Linked DNA regions of Homo sapiens: region 1 is linked to region 2. Evidence: promoter capture Hi-C in human tissues and cell types (Jung and others, 2019). All regions are on one chromosome and are shown on one strand. Each heading gives the region's core, a stretch centred on a gene start or on the middle of the fragment in contact. The rest is flanking DNA. Distances are from core to core; before and after follow the strand shown. Region 1 has its middle 15 kb from the start of FAM201A. Region 2 holds the start of TRMT10B (tRNA methyltransferase 10B).

Region 1 (5,686 bases), core at 1,884-4,383, 880 kb after region 2:
GGCTGGTCTAGAACTCCTGACTTCGTGACCCGCCTGCCTCAGCCTCCCAAATTACAGGCATGAGCCACTGTGCCTGGCATATGTATTTCTTTCTGAAGATTTGTTTTTGTTGGCAAGATTGTTCTTTTTTGTTTGCTTGTTTTGTTTGCTTATTTGTTCGATGATATATTTTTCTTTCTTCCCTATATGCACATTTATTGAAGTGTAGCAAACTAAAAAGTGCACAGATCATGAATGTCTAGCTCCACGTATTTTTCCAAGGCGAACCACCACGCAGATTAACTCTTAAGAGAATTATCAGCACCCTTCAAAGCCTTCTTGTATCTTCTCCCAGTCACAATTCTTTCCTCCCATCTTGCCAAACTATAAGTTAGTTTTATATCTTTTTTAAACCTTTTTATAAGTGAAATCGTCCTATGTATACTATTTTGTTCAACATTATGTTAGTGAAATATATTCGTGTTATTGTTTGTAGTAGTGTTTCGTTTACTTCAATATCTACATAGAATTCCCATTGTGTGTAAATACAAATAGGGGATGGTTAATATTTTTAAATTCTTGAAATTTTTATTGAAATAATTGTAGATACACATGCAGTAGGTAGTGCAAAATAATACAACGAGATCACATGTATTCTTTACCTGGTTTCCCCCAATGGTAACATTTTGCAAAACTATAACAACCAGGACATTGACATTGATACAATCTACCAGCCTTGTTAAAACTTTCCGTGTTTTATTTGTATTTTGTGTGTCCATGTGTGCACATAGCTCTCTATAACTATGCCACACGTCTTGGCTCCTGAATCCACCACCACAGTCAACCCAGGGCAGCCTATCCCCTCAGAATTCTCTGGTGCTGTGCCTTGAAAATCACACCGACCCCCTTGCAATGCCCCCCTCCACTGTCCCTAATCCCTGGCAACTCCCAATCTGTCTCCATCTCTAAATTTTTCGTTAAAAAATGTCATACAAATGAAATCATAGTGTTTAACATTTTGGGATTCGACTTGTTTTACTTGGCTTAATTCCCTGGAGATTTGCCCCAGTTCTTGTTTATACCAATAGTTTGTTCCTTTTTATTGCTGGGTAAGTATGTCATGTTGTGGATATACCACAGCTTGCTGAAGCATTCACCTGATTAAGAATATTTGGGCTGATACTATTTTTGACAGACGACACCTGAAGCTGCTATGGACACGTCTGTGCAGGTTTTTGTGTGAACGTAAATCTTCATTTATCTGAGATAAAAGCCAAAGAGTGCAATGGCTGCATTGTATAAATCACATGCTTAGTTTTTAAGGAATCTACCAAATTATTCCCCAGACTGGTTGTACCATTTTACATTCCCACCAGCAATGTGTGAGCACCCCACATTCTCTGGATTCTCAACAGGCATTTGGTGGTGTCAGCATTTATTTTTAAGTTTCTCTAATAGCTATGTGCATTTAACTGATCGCTAATGATTTAAAACACTGTCTCACATGTTTATTTTCCATCTATACCTCCTCTTTAATGAGAGGATCCTCTTTTCTTCTTTCTAAATATCAAGAGCTCTTTTTATATATTGTAGCATAGATCCTAGTCCTTTGTCAGAAAATAGCATTTTTTATTTAAATACGGTCAATTTTGGTAAGGGTCCCACATGCACTTACAACAAATTATATTCTGTAAGTATTGGTTGCAGGGCTTTCTGTGTGTCAAGTTTGTAATCAAGTTGTTCAAATTGACATTTCTATTGATTGTTTTGTCTGATTGGAGCATCAGTTTTAGAGAGGTAAGTTAAAATCTTTATAATGTTGAATGTTCTTATTTTGGTTTGCAGTTTGGTCAATTTCTGTGTTCCATATTTTGAGAATATATTATTATTTAAAGCTTACAAATTTAGGATTGTCATATCACTCTCTTTGATGGCTGTTATTCTTTTTTTTTTCTTTTTAGCAATATATCTTGCATTAATGTCAACTTTGACTTATGATTATAAAGCTATACATTTTTTTTTCCTTCTCTTGTTTGGTCTTTACAAAGAATATCTTTTTCTAACCTTTGACTTTCAACTATTCTACGTATGCCTACTTAATGTTTGTTTCTTGTAAGTATAAAAGAGTTGTTTTATTTTCACCCAATCAGTTTTACTATTTATTTAGAATGTAATTACTGATAAATTAGAGGTTTTTATTGCTTTTTCTTTTTGATTAATAAACTTCTTTTTAATTATCTTTTTTGTCTGTTAGCTTGTTTCACTTTCCCAACATTTCAAGGACGCCATTCTGTTTACCTCCTTTGTGTATATTGAGACACTGTCTGTCAGCCTTATATTAATATTTTCTCTTTTGAAAATAACATTTCTTTGTTTGTGCTGCTTTTAAAATCTTTTCCTTGCCCTGTTTTTCTGCATACTTATTATAATGTACTAGGTGAAGTTTTTCTTAAATTAATTTGCCTGCTTTGTAGAATTTCTTAAATCTCTCTTTTACTGTCTATTGTCAGTTTGGGGAAATTCTTGGTGATATTGTCTTAAAATATTGCTTATGTCCCAATTCCTCTCTCCCTTTCTTCTGGAACTTCAATTACACAGATATTTTCTGTACATTCTATCAATTTTTTTCTGCTTCACTTAAAATGTTTTCTACTAATCTATCTTCCAACTCAACCCATATGTATGCATTTTGTATTTCAGATATTTATTTTCAATTCTGAATTTCTATTTGATTCATTATGGTTTCCAGTTTTCTGCCAAAAATCTGGATCATTTGTTTCTTTTCTAAAACACATGAATCATAGTTAACTATTAAAGTTCCTGTTATTATTGATAACAGTGGTATCCAGAAACCCTGCTCCCTTTTTTTTTTTTTTTTTTTTTTTTTTTTTTGAGACGGAGTCTCGCTCCGTCGCCCAGGCTGGAGTGCAGTGGAGCAATCTTGGCTCACTGCAAGCTCCGCCTGCCGGGTTCACGCCATTCTCCTGCCTCAGCCTCCTGAGTAGCTGGGACTACAGGCACCCGCCACCACGCCCGGCTAATTTTTTGTATGTTTAGTAGAGACGGAGTTTCACCATGTTAACCAAGATGGTCTCGATCTCCTGACCTCGTGATCCGCCTGCCTCCGCCTCCCAAAGTGTTGGGATTACAGGCGTGAGCCACCGCGCCCGGCCCCTGCTCCTTTCTTATTGTGTCTCTCTTGGTGTTGGGTCATGGGATGCTGTTTCTGGATGTTTCAGGTGAGTTTGCGTTGATACCCAAGCTTGGCTGTGCATTCTTGTCTTCTCCAGAGAGGACTTGGTTTTCTTCTGGCAGTCAAAGGACCGCCTTGATCCAGTCAGTCAAGGGAGTGAATCAAGACTACATTTCAGCCTAGTGACTTTCCCAGTGCTTATCTCTTTTTAAGTCACGACTCCAGAGACTGTGATTTTTCCAAGCAGATCTCCTTTGAAAGATAGGCCATGAACTCCCACCTCTGTCTCCCAGGACCCACAATTCCAAATGCTCTGTTAAGCTTTCTAGACCACTGAAAGCACCTCTTTTATTTGGTTCCTTTGCTTCTAATCTTAGAAAAAAAAAATAGGATTGGGTAAATCTATCAAGAACCGAAAGCCAGGCAGATGTCAGGCTCACTCTCTTGTAATTCTTCCTAGATAATAGGTCCTTCAAACTCTCACTGCTTGATAGCCCAGTTCAGGGGCTCTCATATCCTGTGTCTCCCAAAACCACTTTATCTGAGCTGCAGATTCCTGTTTGACTGCAATGCCCTAAACTGAAACTCAGCAGCAAATCCCCTGAAAGGAAAATGATTTGCAAAATGTGAAAATAATCTTAATAGATATGCAGATATGCCTGTGTCTTGATTTTATTTTAATTTTTAATTTTTTTTTATTTTTTATTTTTTTTGAGGCGGAGTCTCTCTCTGTCGCCCAGGCTGGAGTGCAGTGCCGCAATCTCGGCTCACTGCAAGCTCCCCCTCCCAGGTTCATGCCATTCTCCTGTCTCAGCCTCAGCGTAGCTCCTGCCTCAGCTCCCAGACTAGCTGGGACTACAGACGCCCGTCACCATGCCCAGCTAATTTTTTGTATTTTTAATAGAGACGGGGTTTCACCGTGTTAGCCAGGATGGTCTCAATCTCCTGACCTCGCGATCTGCCCGCCTCGGCCTCCCAAAGTGCTGGGATTACAGCGTGAGCCACCGCGCCCGGCCGCCTGTGTCTTGATTTTTTTACTTTAAAAATCCTGTCTGCCTTTTATCATTCTCCTAGACTTTAAGAGATTTGCTTTTCTGTTATCATTATATTCAGATTTCAAAACTATTCTCAGTGGGAGTTAGATCTGAGATATTTGGGGCTGGGGGGGGGTTCCAGTTACAATTTTTTGTTTTGTTTTGTTTTGAGACTGAGTCACTGTCGCCCTGGCTGGAGTGCAGTGGCGCGATCTCGGCTCACTGCATCCTCCGCCTCCCGGTTCAAGCGATTCTCCTGCCTCAGCCTCCCGAGTAGCTGGGATTACAGGCGCCCACCACCATGCCCGGGTAATTTTTTGTATTTTTAGTAAGACGGGGTTTCAACATGTTGGTTAGGCTGGTCTCCGATTCCTGATCTTGTGATCTGTCCGCCTCGGCCTCCCAAAGTGCTGGGATTACAGGCGTGAGCCACCATGCCCGGCACCATTTTATTTTGTTTTGAGACAGGGCCTCGTTCTGTGACCCAGGCTGGAGTGCGATGGCATGATCACAGCTCACTGCAGCCTCGACCTGTTGTGCTCAAGCAATCATCCCTCCTCAGCCCCCCAAGTAGCTGGGACTACAGTCATGTGACACCACACCCAGCTAATTTTTTTTCTTTTTTTTTTTTTTTTTTTTTTTTTGTAGAAATTGGTTTTTGCCACGTTGCCTAGGGCTCAACTGTTCCTCTTTCCTCAGCTACCCAAAGTGCTGGGATTACAGGTGTGAGCCACTGAGCCTGACCCCAGTTACTCATTTTTCTATCTGGCTTAGTTTCTGTTTCTTTCTTTCCTTCTTTGGTTTACTATTCCTTAAGTTATGTGAACATATAAAGGAAAAAAAATGTATCTTAAGTCAAATTCGTGGCTTTGGGTGGAAGAAGAGGGAAGAAAGAAAATGTATTTTTGGCCAGACGTGGTGGCTCATGCCTGTAATCCCAGCACTTTGGGAGGCCAAGGTGGGCAGATCATGAGGTCAGGACTTTCAGACCAGCCTGGCCAATATGGTGAAACCCCATCTCTACTAAAAATACAAAAATTAGCCTGGCATGGTGGCATGCGCCTGTAGTCCCAGCTACTCGGGAAGCTGAGGCAGAAGACTTGCTTGAACCTGGAAAGCAGATGTTGCAGTGAGCTGAGATTGTGCCACTGCACTCCAGCCTGGGCGACAGAGTGAGATTCTGTTTCAAAAAAAAAAAAGTATTGTTTTATTATACATTTAAAGAAGAAAGTGTTCATAGCCATTGATTTTTCCCTACATGGTAATATATTCGTGGCACCTGGGTCACGTGGAATTATGGGAAGAGAGTCCTTTTCCCTTCTCCTAGGCTGGAGTGCAGTGGCACCATCTTGGCTCACTGAAAGCTCCGCTTCCCAGGTTCACACCATTCTCCTGCCTCAGCTGAGTAGCTGGGACTACAGGTGCCCATTACTACGCCCGGCTGATTTTTTGTATTTTTAGTAGAGGCGGGATTTCACCG
Region 2 (5,681 bases), core at 2,222-4,721:
TGGTAGGTGTGGTGTGAGCTAAAACCTGAAGGCGTCATTGAAGATCATTTAAGCCATGGTGCAAGCCCCACTGGGGCATTTCAGCAGACAGTCGGAAGCCAGGGCCATCTCTGAGCAGAGCAGAGATGTTAAAGCTGGGCTTTAGAAAAAGCCTTATGGGAGGGCCAGGCGCGGTGGCTCACGCCTGTAATCCCAACACTTTGGGAGGCCGAGGCGGGCGGATCACGAGGTCAGGAGATCGAAACCATCCTGGCTAACACGGTGAAACCCCGTCTAAAAAAAAAATACAAAAATTACCCGGGCGTGGTGGCTGCCTGTAGTCCCAGCTACTCGGGAGGCTGAGGCAGGAGAATGGCGTGAACCCGGGCAGCAGAGCTTGCAGTGAGCCGAGATCGTGCCACTGCACTCCAGCCTGGGCGACAGAGCAAGACTCCGTCTCAAAAAAAAAAAAAGAAGAAAAAGCCTTATGGGGTGGAGAGTTGGGGGGGTGGGAATGAATTTTTAGTGTTAGTATTTTAAAATCGCAGCCGGGCACGGTGGCTCACACCTGTAATCCCAGCAATTTCAGAGGCCGAGGCAAGCGAATCGCTTGAGCCCAGGAGTTCAAGACCAGCCTGGGCAACATGGTGAAGCCCTGTCTTTTTTTTTTTTTTTTTTAAGAAAAAGAAAAAATTTGTAAAAAAAAAAAACAAAATCGTCCTGGAAGCTGATAATGGATGGATTGGAGCATGGATTGGGGATGGCTGGTAGGTGCTAGAGGAGCTGTGGAAAGAAAAGTCCACAGGGGGGAATTGTTGGGCCAAGGAGGAATCCAACCAAGCTGTAGTTTCTTGAACGGGAGATATTTCGGGCTCATTCAGGTTGGAGTCTCTCTGAATGGGTGAGACCTCTTAGGACTGCAGGAGTGAAGGAAGAGTGGCTGATAAAGAGGCCAAGGCTTGGGCAAGCCGCTTCGTGTCTCTGATGGAGGAAGAAGAGTGCCCAGGGGCTAGAATCATCCTGGTCAAAGCCCTGATATTCTGTTGTAGGCTGGGGCAGTGGCGAGGGAGGTTGTGTACTCAGGAAAGGGTTGTGTCAGCTCGAGGGCTCTGCTGGCTGTGGCAAAGCCTGGGGAAGGGCAAGGCTGTGGGATGATGGGCCGTCCAAATTTGGTTTCACCTGTTAACGAAGGGGAAAAAAGGTGCTAGACTCAGTTAATCTCCAGAATTGGAAGGGCCTGGGAGGGGAAAGATCTAGTTAGGTTAATAGAGGTTTTTTTACAGATGCAAATCCCTCCCGCACCCTCAACACAAAACAGCTTTGCAGGGGCCATTTCAAATTATGGCAATGAAACATATTTTGGGGTAAAAAATTTTTGTTTTTCTGTCATGTTGAGAGGTGACAGAGTGATGGCAGCCCTCGCTCGCTCTTGGCACCTCCTCGGCCTTGGCGCCCGCTCTGGCCACGCTTGAGGAGCCCCTCAGCCTGCCGCTGCACTGTGGGACCCCCTTCCTGGGATGGCCGAGGCCGGAGCCGGCTCCCTCAGCCTGCCGGGAGGTGGGGAGGGAGAGGCACAGGGGGAACCGGGGCTGCTCGCAGGGCGCTTGCGGGCCAGCTAGAGTTCCGGGTGGGCGTGGGCTTGGCGGGCCCTGCACTCGGAGCGGCGGCCGGCCCCGCCGGCCCCAGGCAGTGAGGGGCTTAGCACCCAGGCCAGCAGCTGCGGAGGGTGCGCTGGGTCCCCCAGCAGGGCCGGCCCACCGGCGCTGCTGTTGATTTCTCGCTGGGCCTTAGCTGCCTACCTGCGGGGCAGGGCTTGGGACCTGCAGCCCGCCATGCCTGAGCCTTCCCCCTACCCCTACCCCTACCCCTACCCCCACCCCTACCCCCACCCCCACCCCCGCCGTGGGCTCCCGAGAGGCCCAAGCCTCCCAGACGAGCACTGACCCCTGCTCCACGGCACCCGGTCCCATCGACCGCCCAAAGGCTGAGGAATGTGGGCACACGGCGAGGGACTGGCAGGTAGCTTCACCTGCGGCCCCAGTGCTGGATCCACTGGATGAAGCCAGCTGGGCTCCTGAGTCCAGTGGGGACTTGGAGAACCTTTATGTTTAGCTAAGGGATTGTAAATACACCAATGAGCACTCTGTATCTAGCTCAAGGTTTGTAAATGCACCAATCAGCACTCTGTGTCCAGCTCAGGGTTTGTGGATGCACCAATCGGCACTCTGTGTCTAGCTAATCTGGTGGGGACTTGGAGAATCTTTATGTATAGCTAAGGGATTGTGAATGCACCAATCGGCACTCTGTATCTAGCTCAAGGTTTGTAAATGCACCAATCAGCACTCTGTGTCTAGCTCAGGGTTTGTAAATATACCAATCAACACTCTGTGTCTAGCTAATCTAGTGGGGACTTGGAGAACTTTTGTGTCTAGCTCAGGGATTGTTAACGCACCAATCAGCACCCTGTCAAAACGGACCAATCAACTCTCTGTAAAACAGACCAATCGGCTCTCTGTAAAGTGGACCAATCAGCAGGATGTGGGTGGGGCCAGATAGGAGAATAAAAACAGGCTGCCCGAGCAAGCAGCGGCAACCCGTTGGGGTTGCCTTTCTGGACTGTGGGTGCTTTGTTCTTTGTAATAAATCTTGTTGCTTGCTAACCCTTTGGGTCCCTACTGTCTTTGTGAGCTATAACACTCGCCGTGAAGATCTGTATTTGCAGCTCTTTCTTGAGGCCCGTGTGACCACGAACCCACCGAGAGCGAAGGAACAACTCCAGGTGTGCCCTCTTAAGAGATTTAACACTCATTGCGAAGATCTGCAGCTTCACTCCTGAAGCTAGCGAGACCATGAACCCGCCAGAAGGAAGAAACTCCAGACACGCAGTCTTTAAGAATTGTAACACCGCGATGGTCCGCGGTTTCATTCTTGAAGTCAGTGAGACCAAGAATCCACCATTTCCGGACACAATATGATATCAGGTTGGAATTTGATATTTTAGTTCTACAAAGATTCTGTTGTGTCAGTCCCCGTTGGGCCTAAACTCCGCAAGGGATGGGATATAATATCAGTGCATGTCCAACCGCCCCGCTCCACTCCCGCTTCCTGTAATGGCCATAACTAGTTTTTAAGGTTTCCTTCGGCAGAGAGGGAGGTCCATTCAGTCGGGTGCGGGCCTTAGAATTTTTTTGCTTCACACACCCCAGTTTCGCAATGTCCAGCCCTTGACAACCAACAGAGCACCTGTAGGAGCCCTGTGAAGTTGGTAAAGGGTTGGGGTTGTAATAGCTGTCCAGCAGACGGGGAGACAGGGGTTCAGAGAAGGTGGGCAACCACCACAGCAGGACGCAGCTCCCTACCGCCAGGGCTGGGAGTAGAAGCCGCAGCCTCCGCTCCGGCTCGGCCCCACGAGCACCCTGCAGGTGAAAAACTACAATTTCCAGAATGCCATTCGGAGCGGAGTTACGAAGCGGAAGCGAGGCCGGGGGCGGGGGGGATCCGATGCGCGCCGCTGCCGCTGCGTGGGGGTGAGGGGATCAGGTACGCTGTCCGCTGGTTAAGGGGGCTGGCTGGGGGCTGCGGGGTCTGTCCTGGGACGTCCGCCTCCCTCGCGGGTGGGGCGGACGTTGAGAAAGCAGCGTTTAGCAGTCATGTGGCCTGTGGTACTCCACCTTCCTGATACTTTCCCTTCCTGCTTCCACTCGCACGCTCAGCCTGTGGGCCGGGAGAGACCCGCAGGCGGGGTGCTCTCAGGCTGAATTCGATGTGCCATCACTTAGCGGCAGTGTAGGTACCCATCAGGTGGGAGTTAGGCTAGCAAAGGTCTGAGGCCTCTGCCAACCTAGGGTGGGGGTGCGGAGTGGAGGATTTATGAACTCAGCAAGTATTTATTAAGCATCTATAAGCAAACAACACTTGCCTACATTGAAGGGATGGAGGAGGTTCCGACAACAAGTAAAATAGGTTATGTTGGATAGTAATATGAATGAGGAGAGGAAGGTAGTCTGTGAGTGTCTTAGGGAAGAGCATTGAGGGTAAAGAGAACGGCGAATGTAAAGGCCTTGAAGGGTATGTTTGAGGAACAGCAAATAGACCCCGGAGTGCAGAGGAAACGAGAAAGGTAGACCTTAGTGATCTGCATAGGTCATTGTATGGATTTGGGCTATTTACTGTCAGTGAAATGGAGAGTACTGCAGGGTTCTAAGCAGAAGAGTGGTGATCATCAAATACTTAGGATGCTCACAGGGCTCGGGTACTGAGGGTGTACAGGTGAATTCTTCCAATTCTTCCCTGGGTTTATAATCTAGTGGGGAAACAGGTAGACAGCTGTCATGCAAGGCAGGGTCAGATAATTGGAGCCCCATGAAAGCAGAACGAATGTCATCCCCAAGTCCCCAGGATGTACTATTATGTCAGGTGCTTAGTAGCTTTGTTGAACGAAAGTAATGAATATTCAGCATCGGACCCATAATTGGAGGCTCAGAAAAGATGTTTAATGAAGAAATGAAAAATAAATGAAATCTCACTTCTTGATACTGTTACAATGGCAATTAAGTTTCAACCTGAATGTGAGAAGGGGACAAACATTCAAACCAGAGCAGCACTCAAATTCATAAGATAGGAAATACAAAGGTGCTGCCAGGATTGGGGAAGGGAGAGTTATATAAAGGTCACAGGGTCGGGTGTGGTGGCTCACGCCTGTAATCCTAGCACTTTGGGAGGCCCAGACAGGTGGGTCGCGAGGTCAGGAGATCGAGACCATCCTGGCTAAAATGGTGAAACTCCGTCTCTACTAAAAATACAAAAAAATCTAGCCGGACATGGTGGCGGGTGCCTGTAGTCCCAGCTACTCAGGAAGCTGAGGCAGGAGAATGCGTGAACCTGGGAGGCAAAGCTTGCAGTGAGTCGAGATCGCGCCACTGCACTCCAGCCTGGGCGACAGAGTAAGACTCCGTCTTTTTTTTTTTTTTTTTTTTTAAAGTTAGTTTCACTTTAGGAAGACAAACAAGCTCTGGAGCTGGACAGTGGTGATGGTGGCACACAATGTGGATGCCCTTAGGTGTGTTTTTAACTGCACATTTACAAATGGTTAAAATGGTAGTTCCTATGTCCAAAAAAAAATGCTAAATTTGGGCATAGATAATGTCCCACACAGATTGAGCAGATCTCTGCTTCTGTGATGTCCAACTTCACCTTTGCTTTCTGAGGATCCCTAGGTGGCAATCACCTAATCAGTATTTATTGAGCTTCCATTCTGTGCCAGGCCTTATGCCAGACAACAGAGATACAAAGATACAAAAGAGGTGGGCCCCGCCTTCAGGAGTGTTAGCTTGTTCTATTACTCTTCTGATGGTGGTTGGAGTTGTTTTTATTTGATTTGCAAGGTTATTGCATCCCAAATTCCTGGTTTAAGAAACATTCTCAGGGACTGTAGAGATTTGGAGAAACATGAGGTAAAAGGAGGGGAAAAGAAAGGAAGGGAGTGGGAGTGGTGGCGGTAAACTTCAGTTCAATTAAACAAAAAATAAACACTGCTGTTTTCAAGGTTCTATACTGTGAACTCTTAAGTGTTTAGGTAAATGTAGGTATAAGCCCTCCTACAAAGGAATTCAGTTTGATAGGAGAGAAGATACCAGCACAGACTTTCCAATTTTTGAAAACAACAGTGGAAGTCTGTAGCTCCTAGGATCTCCTATCCTAGA

What was found. The method cuts DNA at HindIII sites, captures the fragments that hold promoters and counts their contacts. A contact is called where the count stands out against the background at its distance.
Region 1: a fragment that was not itself captured here is called in contact with the fragment with the promoter of TRMT10B in region 2 in 1 of the 25 tissues and cell types used here (dorsolateral prefrontal cortex).

What each region holds. Positions count from the first base shown.
Region 1 is chr9:38,633,125-38,638,810 of GRCh38, forward strand. No RefSeq gene overlaps it. Among named protein-coding and RNA genes, the nearest start is that of FAM201A, 15 kb to the left of the region's middle. The HindIII fragment of the contact is 4,842 bases long and covers 713-5,554 here.
Region 2 is chr9:37,750,334-37,756,014 of GRCh38, forward strand. It overlaps TRMT10B (tRNA methyltransferase 10B), which reads left to right and starts at 3,472. Exons shown (of 9, transcript NM_144964.4): 1 at 3,472-3,519. RefSeq lists a silencer at 3,382-3,616. The HindIII fragment of the contact is 14,807 bases long and covers 1-5,681 here.